2 separate regions of the Homo sapiens genome follow, and region 1 is linked to region 2. The links are contacts of gene promoters, found by promoter capture Hi-C in blood cells and fetal thymus (Javierre and others, 2016). All regions are on one chromosome and are shown on one strand. The core of a region is centred on a gene start or on the middle of the fragment in contact, and the rest is flanking DNA. Distances in the headings are between cores, read along the strand shown. Region 1 overlaps LONRF3 (LON peptidase N-terminal domain and ring finger 3). Region 2 holds the start of WDR44 (WD repeat domain 44).

Region 1 (5,367 bases), core at 316-2,815, 630 kb after region 2:
AATATGCACTTGGGAGCCAGACTGCCTGGGTTTATGTCCCAACTCTGCTAACTTTTATGACCTTTGTGGCCCTGGGCAAATGACTTAACTTCCCAGTACTTCATCTCCTCATCTGTTAAATGGGGGATATTCAAAGCAGCTACTAAAGAGGGCTGTTGTGAGGATTACATAAGCTAATAATGTAAGGTACTTAGAACAGTGTCTGGCATGTAGCACTATATAAACGTTCTCTTTCTTCCCTTCCTTCCTTCCTTCCTTCCTTTCTCTCTCTCTCTCTTTCTGTTTTCTTTCTTTTTTTTTTTTTTTTTTTTGAGACAGAGTTTCCCTCTCGCACCCAGGCTGGAGTGCAGTGGCGCAATCTCGGCTCACTGCAACCTCCGCCTCCTGGGTTCACGCCATTCTCCTGCCTCAGCCTCCTGAGTAGTTGGGACTACAGGCGCCCGCCACCACACCTGGCTAATTTTTTGTATTTTTTTTTGTAGAGACAGGTTTTCACCGTGTTAGCCAGGATGGTCTCGATCTCCTGACCTCATGATCCGCCCGCCTTGGCCTCCCAAAGTGCTGGGATTACAGGCGTGAGCCACCGCGCTGGCTTTTTTTTTTTGAGACGGAGTCTCACTCTGCCACTCACACTGGAGTGCAGTGGCGTGATCTCAGCTCACTGCAACCTCCGTCTCCCAGGTTCAAGTGAGTCTCCCACCTTAGCCTCCCGAGTAGCTGGGATCACAGGCGTGTGCCACCATGCCCGGCTAATTTTTTGTATTTTTAGTAGTGACGGGGTTTTGCCATGTTGGCTGGTCTCAAACTCCTGGCCTCAAGCAATCCACTTGCCTCAGTCTCCCAAAATGCTGGGATTACAGGTGTGAGCCACCGTGTCCAGCCTATATAAATGTTTTCTATCGCCATTTTTATCATTTTCCAGGGACATTAGAAAGAGGAAGGTGAGAGTGGTGTTGCTGCCCTGGTGCTCCTGAACCTCTACTGATAGGCTCCTTGGCAGCTTGGCCAGTTTTCTCTGAAGGGATCCTCACACTCACACAATGGTTGTGCCATTTCAAGTCCTTAATATAGTCAGTCAGCCTGCCAGTATCCCCAAGGATTTAGGTCACATGGGGGGTGAGAAGAAAAACGGCCTGGACACCTCTCAGGATGCCAGGATGCAAAGTGTCACTTTCTGTATCTTTGCCTGGCTTCAGGACTGGCCCTCAGCCACATGTCAGTACTTTGTTTAGAAGATTAGATTTGAGCCTGTGCTCTACTACTTGCAAACCATGGGGAGGTGGCTTCACTCTCTGAACCCCAAGTATCCTTGTTTGCAAAATGAAGCTATTGATATCTGCCCTGATTGCCTCGCAATGATGCAATGAGGGTCAAAAGTGAACGTGGCCAAGAGGACATTCTGCAAGCTATAAAGCTTCCTGGATGTAGTGCTCTGTCTCTACACAACCCAAGGATGCCTTCCTCAGAAAACCAATGTATCCAAGTTCAAGTCCATGATCCCTTATCTGAATCTTGTAAGACCAGAGGTGTTCAGAATCCAGAATGTTTTATATTTTGCAAGGACCATATATTAGGTCTCAGTGAGCTCTGGACAGCTTCCTGTAATCCAACACACTATTCAGCAGATTCCATGAAAATTCACACTCAGTGGGACAAATATTTTTAAACACTTTATATCAGTTTAGGTCAGGTTTTGCCATCTAATGAATTTTGATGTCAAGCTTATGAAAATAATGGATTATCAGAACTTTTTTGGATCTGGAAACCAGATAAAGCATGTGGACCTGTGTACTGTGCAATGAATGTCAGGTGAATCTTGTATGTTCTTTCTTGAGAAGGTTTTCATGAGTGATGATGGATTCATTTTTTTTTCTGAGAAGGTTTTCTTGAGTAATGATGGATTAGTATGGTTTTTTTTCCCCAAAGAACACATTTAGTGTTTAATACAAGTCACCAGTGTCTTAACCCAAAGGAGCTTTAGTGGGGGCACTTTCAGCCTCCCAGTAGTGCAAGTCAGGGAGCTGCCTAGGAGTAAGAGGACTTGCAACTCTTTCCACCTCCACCCTAAGCCTAGATCCTAGGGCTAAGGAACTTGATAGTGTGGTGAGAAGCAGAGCTGAGAAGCAGTGAAGCATTTTGGATGAAATGGGAAAAGTGACTTCTCCAGTGAAGGAAGAGTTGATGAAAGTATTAAATAGGAGTTTCATTTCCCCATAGTGATGAAGTGAGAGGTGGGGGCAGTGATGAGATAATTTATTTTCTTGGAGGTTAAGAGAAGACGAACTGATGCCTATAATTCAAAACCACCTCCCACCCTGATTTGCATATTTCCCAACATTTCTATGTAAAATGCCCCAAGTGTAGGGGTTTATCTGGCAGCCCTATTCTCTATTCCAGCCATCCAACCAGAGTGTGTGGTACTCAGCACATCCTGCAGGTGATACAGCTCTCAGTGGTGTGAGCTGGTTGCCCTGAGCAGGTAGAGTATATGGGTTGGCCGGGCATGGTGGCTTACTCCTGTAATCCCAGCACTTTGGGAGGCTGAGGCAGGTGGATAACTTGAGGTTAGGAGTTTGAGACCAGCCTGGCCAACATGGTGAAACCCCATCTCTACTAAAAATACAAAACTTAGCCAGGCATGGTGACGCATGCCTGTAGTCCCAGCTACTCAGGAGGCTGAGGCCGGAGAATCGCTTGAACCTAGGAGGTGGAGGTTGTAGTGAGCCGAGATCCACCACTGCACTCCAGCCTGGGTGACAGAGCAAGATTCTATCTCAAAAAAAAAAAAAAAAGAGTATATGGATTGCTACTTGATAATATGATTAGTGGGATCACACAGAGGCCTTTCCAGTCTCCCAACACTTCTCCCCTCTAGCTGCCCTGTGATATCATGCAAGCCTTTCCCAAACACCCTTGGTAAACACTGCTGGGAGAAGCAACAAGGGAGGCCATCAACATCCATGTATCAGCCAAGACAAGGCTTCAGAAGGAGCTGGGGGAATGCGGAAAGGTCTTCAAGAGGTTTGGAGCAGGGGCCACTGCTCAAGAAGGCAGCTTCAGGGCAGCCTCTGCAGCGAGGCCATAGCCTGAGGGCTCTGGGGCCTGCAAAGAGGCATGTTAGAAAGGGGGGCAGGGGAGTATCCAGCAGCCACAACCTGGATCACTTCATTCACTAAGTTAGGCTTAGTACTGCCAATGGAGGAGGCAAGGGAGCAGGCCACTGGGTGGAGGGACGTCCTAGATGACTCAAGTGAAATGCTCTTCAAGCCAAGTTGCTAGTGTCCACCTGTCTCAAGACACACACAGAGGGCAGCCCTCTCCCCCGCTACTCTTTTTTCTTCCTTCTTCCCCAGGATGTTCCTCTGCCCTCCCTAGAGTGTCTTTCCCAGAGCAGTTGGGCTTGGGCCCTGAGGAGCCATAAACTTCTTTATACTTTCTAAAGTATGTGGTGAGGGAGCAGAAGTGATCCAGGCCCCTAGGAGAGTAAGCTCAGCCCCTGGTTAGCCCTCTGAAGGGCAGTCTGCTTTGTGGAGAAGAGCATTCTGGGAGTCCTGAGACTGCAGTTCTAGTTCCAGCTTTGCCACTAGCGACCTTTGAGGTCTTGGAGAGGTCAGATCCCTTCTCCTGGGCCTCTTCTGAAAACTGATCAGTTAGTGTAGGTGCTCTTTCAAGCCACTACTGAGGACTGGTTCTCTGCTTGAGAGACTAGTTCAAACGAACGCATACCTGGGCAGGCCCTGAAAGCTGGTTAGCATGTGGTCAAATGGGGGTTCTTGCTACATTTGATGGTCACTCCGTACAATGGTGGGGCAGAGACAAGGTAGTATGGCAGAGTGGTTAAGAATACAGGCTTTGGTATCAGTCAGTCCCAGGTTCAAACCCTGATTCCACAATTTACCAGCTGTGTTACACTGGGCAAGTTAACGTTTTTGGGTTTCAGTTTTGTCTTCTTTATAATGGCATTAGAACAGTTGCCCGCATTTTAGGGCTGTAGATAAGAGAGTCCTTTTAAAATGTTTCACACAACAGTGAGTGCTGTGGGTTAGTTATTGTTAGAGCAGTAGTGTTAATAGGCTGAATAAAATGGGATTGAATGCTAATGTTTCCTTCCAGGCACATTTCAGAAAAGCCCAAGCCTTAGCCACCCTAGGCAAGGTGGAGGAGGCACTAAGGGAGTTTCTCTACTGTGTATCCCTTGATGGAAAGAACAAGAGAGCAAGATGTGAAGCCCAAAGAGTGAGTTGAAATGACATCAGGTCCAGCTGCCTACTGGACCCTCCCCTCTCTGTCTTATCTAGGAAGGGGAGTGAGGGTGCTGTCCTCCTTGGCATTTGGGGTCCTGAGTGGGTGGTTCCCTGGGTTAAGGGGACAAAAGGGAGATGGGAGTGTTAATTGATTGCCCAGAAACACCGTCCTTCTGGTGTGTACGATCAGTTTGGGCAGTTTCTACATTTTTGTAGGAGCCTGTGAGGAATGTTCTTGCTTCTTTGACTCAGGGTCTGGATTGTCAGTGGGAGAAAAACCAAAATCAAGTACATTAATATGGGGATTGAGGCTCACTGAGGACATTCTGGCTGTTGATGAGAGATCCAGGGCATGGGGCTACCTGCTGTTACATAACTTTTCTTTGGCTGAATCACAGTTTTCACCAGCCACACATGACAGCCAGCCCCTGGGAAGGGACGTTGGTGGTCCCCACCTCCCCTATCACCATACACAGAACTCCAACCTTCAGCTCCTTTGCTAGAAATAAAACACACTGCCTCACAAATGCTAGTCAGAGACCATTACAATATAATGCAAGCAGTCGTTCCAACTCTTGGGTCCCAGCAGAATGTGGTAGTTATAAAAGAAAAATGGTGTGAAATACTGAGAGCATTAGTGAAGGCTCAGCCATCTTCAATTCATGGACTTTGTTGCTTATTGTTCTACAGTTTACTCTGCTGGTGTCTGGGTAATCGGCCTGTAAGTTGGATTCTGACAGTTGGCGGTTGTCTCTGCTCTCCTTGTGCCCCACCCACTATTCACCGCGGAGCCTTACGGTTTCTGTCCCAGTGTGGTTTGGCAGAGCAGTGGATAAAGAAAGTGAGCAAGAGACAGAACTGGTTTCTGAAGGCTCTAGAAAGGAATAGTTAGCAAAATCAATGAAATAAGGGAACTGGCCCTGGATTTTCTGTCTCACAAAAGATCTCCTTTCTGGGAAGTTGCTTTGAATTGGTTTGAGTATGTGAAAAAGGTGTGCTTGAGAGGAGCACGGTTCGGGGAGAATTGCTTCAAGCTGTGGACCCTTCTCCAAATCTTAAGTGTAGTCCATGATGTAATGATAATAATAATAGCTAACATTCGTTGAGAATTTCTTCTGCATTA
Region 2 (5,262 bases), core at 2,295-4,794:
ATAGTAAATATCTTAGGCTTAGGCTTTGTGGGTCACACAGTCTCTGTCCCAGCTACTCAACTCTGCCATGATAGCGGCCATGTGCAATATATAAACAAATAGTCCTGGCTATGTTCCAACAATATGTTATTTACAAAAACAGAGAGTGGGACAGATTTGTCCAGTGGACCATAATTTGCCAACCTCTGCTTTGGACCAATAGTTTTTCATTTGTTCTTTTTTTTTATCGGGCCTTAGGACAGTCTCCGGAGATTCAAGGAAGGTCAAACAGACAGGGACCTCAACTTTGAAACCCTGTTTCAAATAGAGCAGTTTTTATTTGTATACTATATCGACTTTTGCATAAAATTAAGTTTGATTAAGGTTCCATTTCTAATACAGAGAAAAGCTTCAAAACCACTGCCTTGGATGATACCTAAAATCTGCTGCTTTAAAACTCAAGAACTGATATTTCAGGCAAAATAAACACATCTTTTACATCTTTAAAAGTGATGATGGGGCCGGGCGCGGTGGCTCACGCCTGTAATCCCAGCACTTTGGGAGGCCGAGGCGGACGGATCAAGAGGTCAGGAGATCGAGACCATCCTGGCTAACACGGTGAAACCCCGTCTCTACTAAAAATACAAAAAAATTAGCCGGTCGTGGTGGCTAGCACCTGTAGTCCCAGTTACTCGGGAGGCTGAGGCAGGAGAATGGCGTGAACCCGGGAGGCGGAGCTTGCAGTGAGCAGAGATCGAGCCACTGCACTCCAGCCTGGGCGACAGAGCGAGACTCCATCTCAAAAAAAAAAAAAACAAAAAAAAGTGACGATGGGCAGTATTTATATGTGTTTTAACGTTTCCAGCAATTCATTCTAGCAATTGGCTTTCTCATGCAATTGATAAAAGCATTTAAACGGAAACTTTAAAAGCTCTAAAAATGTTACCAGTTTATCATTCCTATCCATTTTACCTTTTTCTAAGTATAATGTTTAAGGCAGCTTAAAAGGTCCAAGAGAGCTGATATGGTATATTGAAAAAAAACAGAGCACCAAACTAGGACTCCGTATTTGTCTCCACTGCTAGATTATTAGCTTTTTGTAGGCAGAAACTTAAGTTGTCTTTTTCTGTTTTGTTTTTGTTGTTGTTGTTGTTGTTGTTTTTGAGACAGAGTCTCCCTCTGTCGCCCAGGCTGGAATGCAGCGGCGGGATCTCAGCTCACTGCAACCTCCGCCTCCCAGGTTCAAGCAATTCTCCTACCTCAGCCTCCCGAGTAGCTGGGACAACAGGCAAGTGCCACCACGCCCCCCTAACTTTTGTATTTTTAGTAGAGACAGGATTTTGCCATGTTGGCCAGACTGGTCTCGAACTCCTGACCTCAAGTGATCTGCGCACCTCGGCCTTCCAAAGTGTTAGGATTACAGGTGTGAGCCACCGCGCCGGATCTAGTTGTCTTTTTAATCTGTCAATTGTCCTCAGCATCTAGAACGCTTCATGACACCAAATTGTATATGTTTACTGAACTGAGCGACTGGTTTCCACACACGGCATTTTGTTTTTGTTGTTGCTGTTGTTTTTTGTGTGTGTGTGTGAGAGACAGGGTGTGGCTCTGCTGCCCAGTCTGGAGTGTAGTGGTGCTATCTCAGCTCACTGTAGCCTCAACCTCCTGGGCTCAAGCGATTCTCCCACCTCAGCCTCCACAGTAGTTGAGACCATAGGCACATGCCACCACACCCAGTTAAATTTTGAATTTTTTGTAGAGACAGGGTTTCACCATGTTGCCCAGGCTGGTCTGAAACTCTTGAGCTCAAGAAATCCGCCTGCCTCGGCCTCCCAAAGTGCAGGGATTACGGGCGTGAGCCACCGCGCCTGGAACTAACACCTCTATCATATAGAGAAAACTAACTTTTTTTTCTTTGGAAGCCATAAATTCACTATTAGATATCTAGGAAGAGAATACATTCAGGTAGTTAACATCTTTCCATAAATATATATTTCCCTACCTTATATCTGGTATCTTTCCATAATCCAAAAAGAAAACAAAAAAACCTATCTTAGTGAGCAAAACGTTTTTAAAAGTTAGTACTTTGAGTTACATTTTTATACCTAGGAAGTTAATTAACATGTTTAAGACACATAAAACCTAATAATTTTTAGGTTTGACAAAAGTCATACCCTCACAAGGATCCACAAATCCCTTGTCTCCAATTCTGAAACTTCAAAAGCTCTGGAAACCAAGTTTCTGTTTTTTTTTTTTTTTAGTAATTTATTTGACAGTCAAATAGATCTATCTTAAACTTATTTGGCAGAAGCGTCTGACTCAAACTGAATGAGGCTATTTACTTGTATTTATTTATCCCGTATGAACAATCATATATCTTGCTGCAAAAATATTAATATATTTGATTACGCAGTGTTTTCCCTAAACTCCCTGGGGTATTATAGAATATACAGTATATGACATTTGGTTTTTACCCAAGTCCACTAGACCACAGCAGACCTTGCCCTGATTGCTTGACAAAGTCTAGAGCCCCTTTCCAGTTTCTCTGAGACCATACCCCTGGCTCCAATCCAGCCTTTTCTTGAATACTAATTGAGGCTGCACGAACAGCTCAAAATGCCTATCATGATGTCAGTTGGAGAAATAAATATGCTGTGTGATCATACTGAAAGTCAATGTTATCACCTTGATGGTCAATGACCCGTGGTTTAAGAAGGAACATCTCGGTTTTTTAAAAAGTACCTTTCTATTTTTATCACCGGACGCTGGGCAGTTGAGGATCAGAATTAAGCCATTAGCTCGTAGGCTTGCAATGATATCTGCTCAATAAATATTTACCATTTAGCTGACGCACATCTTGGGCAGTATGTAAGAACTTCTCTCACACTGTGTTGGCAGCGACAGACATGTGCGGAGAAAAAGTAACCGGAGGCCTAATACTGGCTCAGCTCCAGCAATAAATCCATCATTACACCATGGAACTGGCACACTCCCCGTGTATATCTCAAGGACCCCACCCTCTGGCCGGCAGGATCATATCTAGGGATCTCAATTAGAGATCTCGTAGTGAATAAGGGCGAGTTATTCTCGTAACGCCAGAGGTGGTGGACCTGCCGACGCCCTAGGGTGGGACATTCCGGGCTTGGATAGTAAGACATCGTAAATATACGCCAAAATGTCCACACCAACGTTTCCCGAGAGTATTTCTTTACAAGTAAAAGACCGACTCAAAATCACCCCTCTCAAAACGCGTCTCTTTGGAACTGCAGAGTTAGGGAGTAAGACTTTCTGCCTGACCCCACCTACGTCGGCCGCGCGCTCTCAGAGCCAGGGCACCACGCTGCTCCTGCGCAGGTCCTAGACTCCTCCCTTCGGGAGGCTCACCCCCTCCCTTCTCGGCTACTTCCGGCCCTCACCGAACGCCCTCAACGCGCTTGCGCCGTTTTGATAGGCTTCTCGGGCCGAAGTAATCGGAGCGCTGCCTCTCTGGAACCGCCCCCGCCACCTCTTCGCCCCGCCCACGTATTACCGCCCCTCCGAAATCTCGCGAGGGTAGGTGCGCGTCGGTATTTTGCGGGCAACTAGCTCTTCCAGCTGCTGTAAATTGCTGCTGCGGGAGAAACTGGAGCCGCTGTAGCCGGCGCGCCCTTCTTCCCTTACTGCGAGGAGCCACCGCCTCTTTCGCGCTCCTTATACACCTATCACTGGGAGCGGTGGCAGCAACATTCCCTGGACCAACCGCCGCCTCTTCAGGCGGCCGCTTTGCCGGTCATTCCCGAAGCCCGGCAACTGAGGGCGGCCCCCTTTCCTTAACAGTCTCCTCGCTACAGATCGTCTGCTCCCTCAGCCTCGCCCGAGACCCACTTCCCCAGTCTCGCCCGGGTGGAGGTCGACGAGGAGGAGACAAGAGTCACCCTTCCTCCAGGCGGCGCCGGCCCCCTCACCCGCGGGTGTGTCCTATAAATGGCGTCGGAAAGCGACACCGAGGAATTCTATGATGCCCCTGAAGATGTGCACCTAGGGGGCGGCTACCCCGTGGGGTAAGTGACTGCAGCTATGACAGGAAGCCGGGCATCCCAAGCCCCCCGCATCTCCTGTGTCTTCCCCCTACACCCCTCCCAGGTCCCGCTGTGTCCGCCACCGCTGTTCCTCCCCGTCTCACTGGAGGACTTCAGAACCCAGACCTGGGGCTTCTTAGGGCGGGGTGACTCGGAGAAGGGGGAGTCAGCCACCTCGGGCAGCCTCCCGGCCGTTTCCCTACTGAACGGTCCCAGGGTCGGTCTCGGAGCCCGTTTCTCTTCTGATCCAGCCTTCTGTGAGGGGGAACAGCTTACGTGCCTGAGTCGGAGATTTGTATCTGTGGGGTTCTGAGCTTACCTTTCAAACATCCGTTTTGGCCTCGGGGACCGTAGATTAAAGGAGCAGTAACAGGAGAAATGTAACTTGTAGTTTTTTATTCTCCCGTTTACCGCTAACTTACCTATTCACTTCAGAGGTGGCTGTAACTCTCCCCTATTTGCCGTCCTCTTTTTCTTGCACACAGCGAAAAGGAGCGGGGGGAAGGTTGGGTATTTGCTTAAGAAAGTCCTCTAGCGAATGTACTCTAGATCAACAGTGTTTTATTAAAATAACACCTTATCGTGAGGTAAAGGAAATCGAATACACGGTCCCTATTAGGCAGAATGCGGTCTAAAAGGATGGCCAGACAGAAGAAATGTGCACAACTGACTGCAGAGGGACAAACAAGTGCTGAGTAATCTGGTGATTGGAAGGAGAGCCCCAGCTTTGTGTTCTTTATCTAATTCTGCAAGATGTTTTAGTGGTGATTAATATGGGTGATTCTGAATAGGAAGTACAGTAGTTGGAATGCTCGCTTGACTAGGACTTGTATTTACTTACCCACTTCTCCACTTTTCAAAGTTGGGGTAGTGCTTTAAAGCGATTTCGCCGAACTCCCCTACGAATGTACGTGGAAATAGAGGCAGTGAAATATATTTTCATGCTGTAAGAACTTGAGGATTGGTAAAATGTAGATGTTAGTATAAAGGACTAATATGGTTCGAGAAGTTCACTGCCTTCAATTCTCACACTTACTCCGTGGGAGTAATAACCCGCTGTGATGCAAGTATAGTTAGCCATGCATGCTAGAAGTCATTCTAAAAACTAATGTATGTTTATACACAATATGCACCAAAAAGTTACAGTAATAAAATCAGAAAGCAATGTACGTTGGTAGATTTCAGATGTTTGTCTTTCCACCAACCTTCATGTCACTGTTGTGGG

What was found. Contacts are between HindIII fragments. The CHiCAGO score rates a contact against its expected background, and 5 or more counts as called.
Region 1: a fragment that was not itself captured here is called in contact with the fragment with the promoter of WDR44 in region 2 in 1 of 17 cell types (activated CD4 T cells); the score reaches 5.8 in activated CD4 T cells.

Annotation. Positions count from the first base shown.
Region 1 is chrX:118,978,708-118,984,074 of GRCh38, forward strand. LONRF3 (LON peptidase N-terminal domain and ring finger 3) reads left to right here. Exons shown (of 11, transcript NM_001031855.3): 3 at 4,114-4,236. Among named protein-coding and RNA genes, the nearest start is that of LONRF3, 6.8 kb to the left of the region's middle. The HindIII fragment of the contact is 307 bases long and covers 1,413-1,719 here.
Region 2 is chrX:118,342,562-118,347,823 of GRCh38, forward strand. WDR44 (WD repeat domain 44) reads left to right here and starts at 3,545. Exons shown (of 20, transcript NM_019045.5): 1 at 3,545-4,019. The coding sequence starts at 3,943. RefSeq lists enhancers at 2,776-2,895, 3,086-3,135, 3,677-4,220. The HindIII fragment of the contact is 5,332 bases long and covers 387-5,262 here.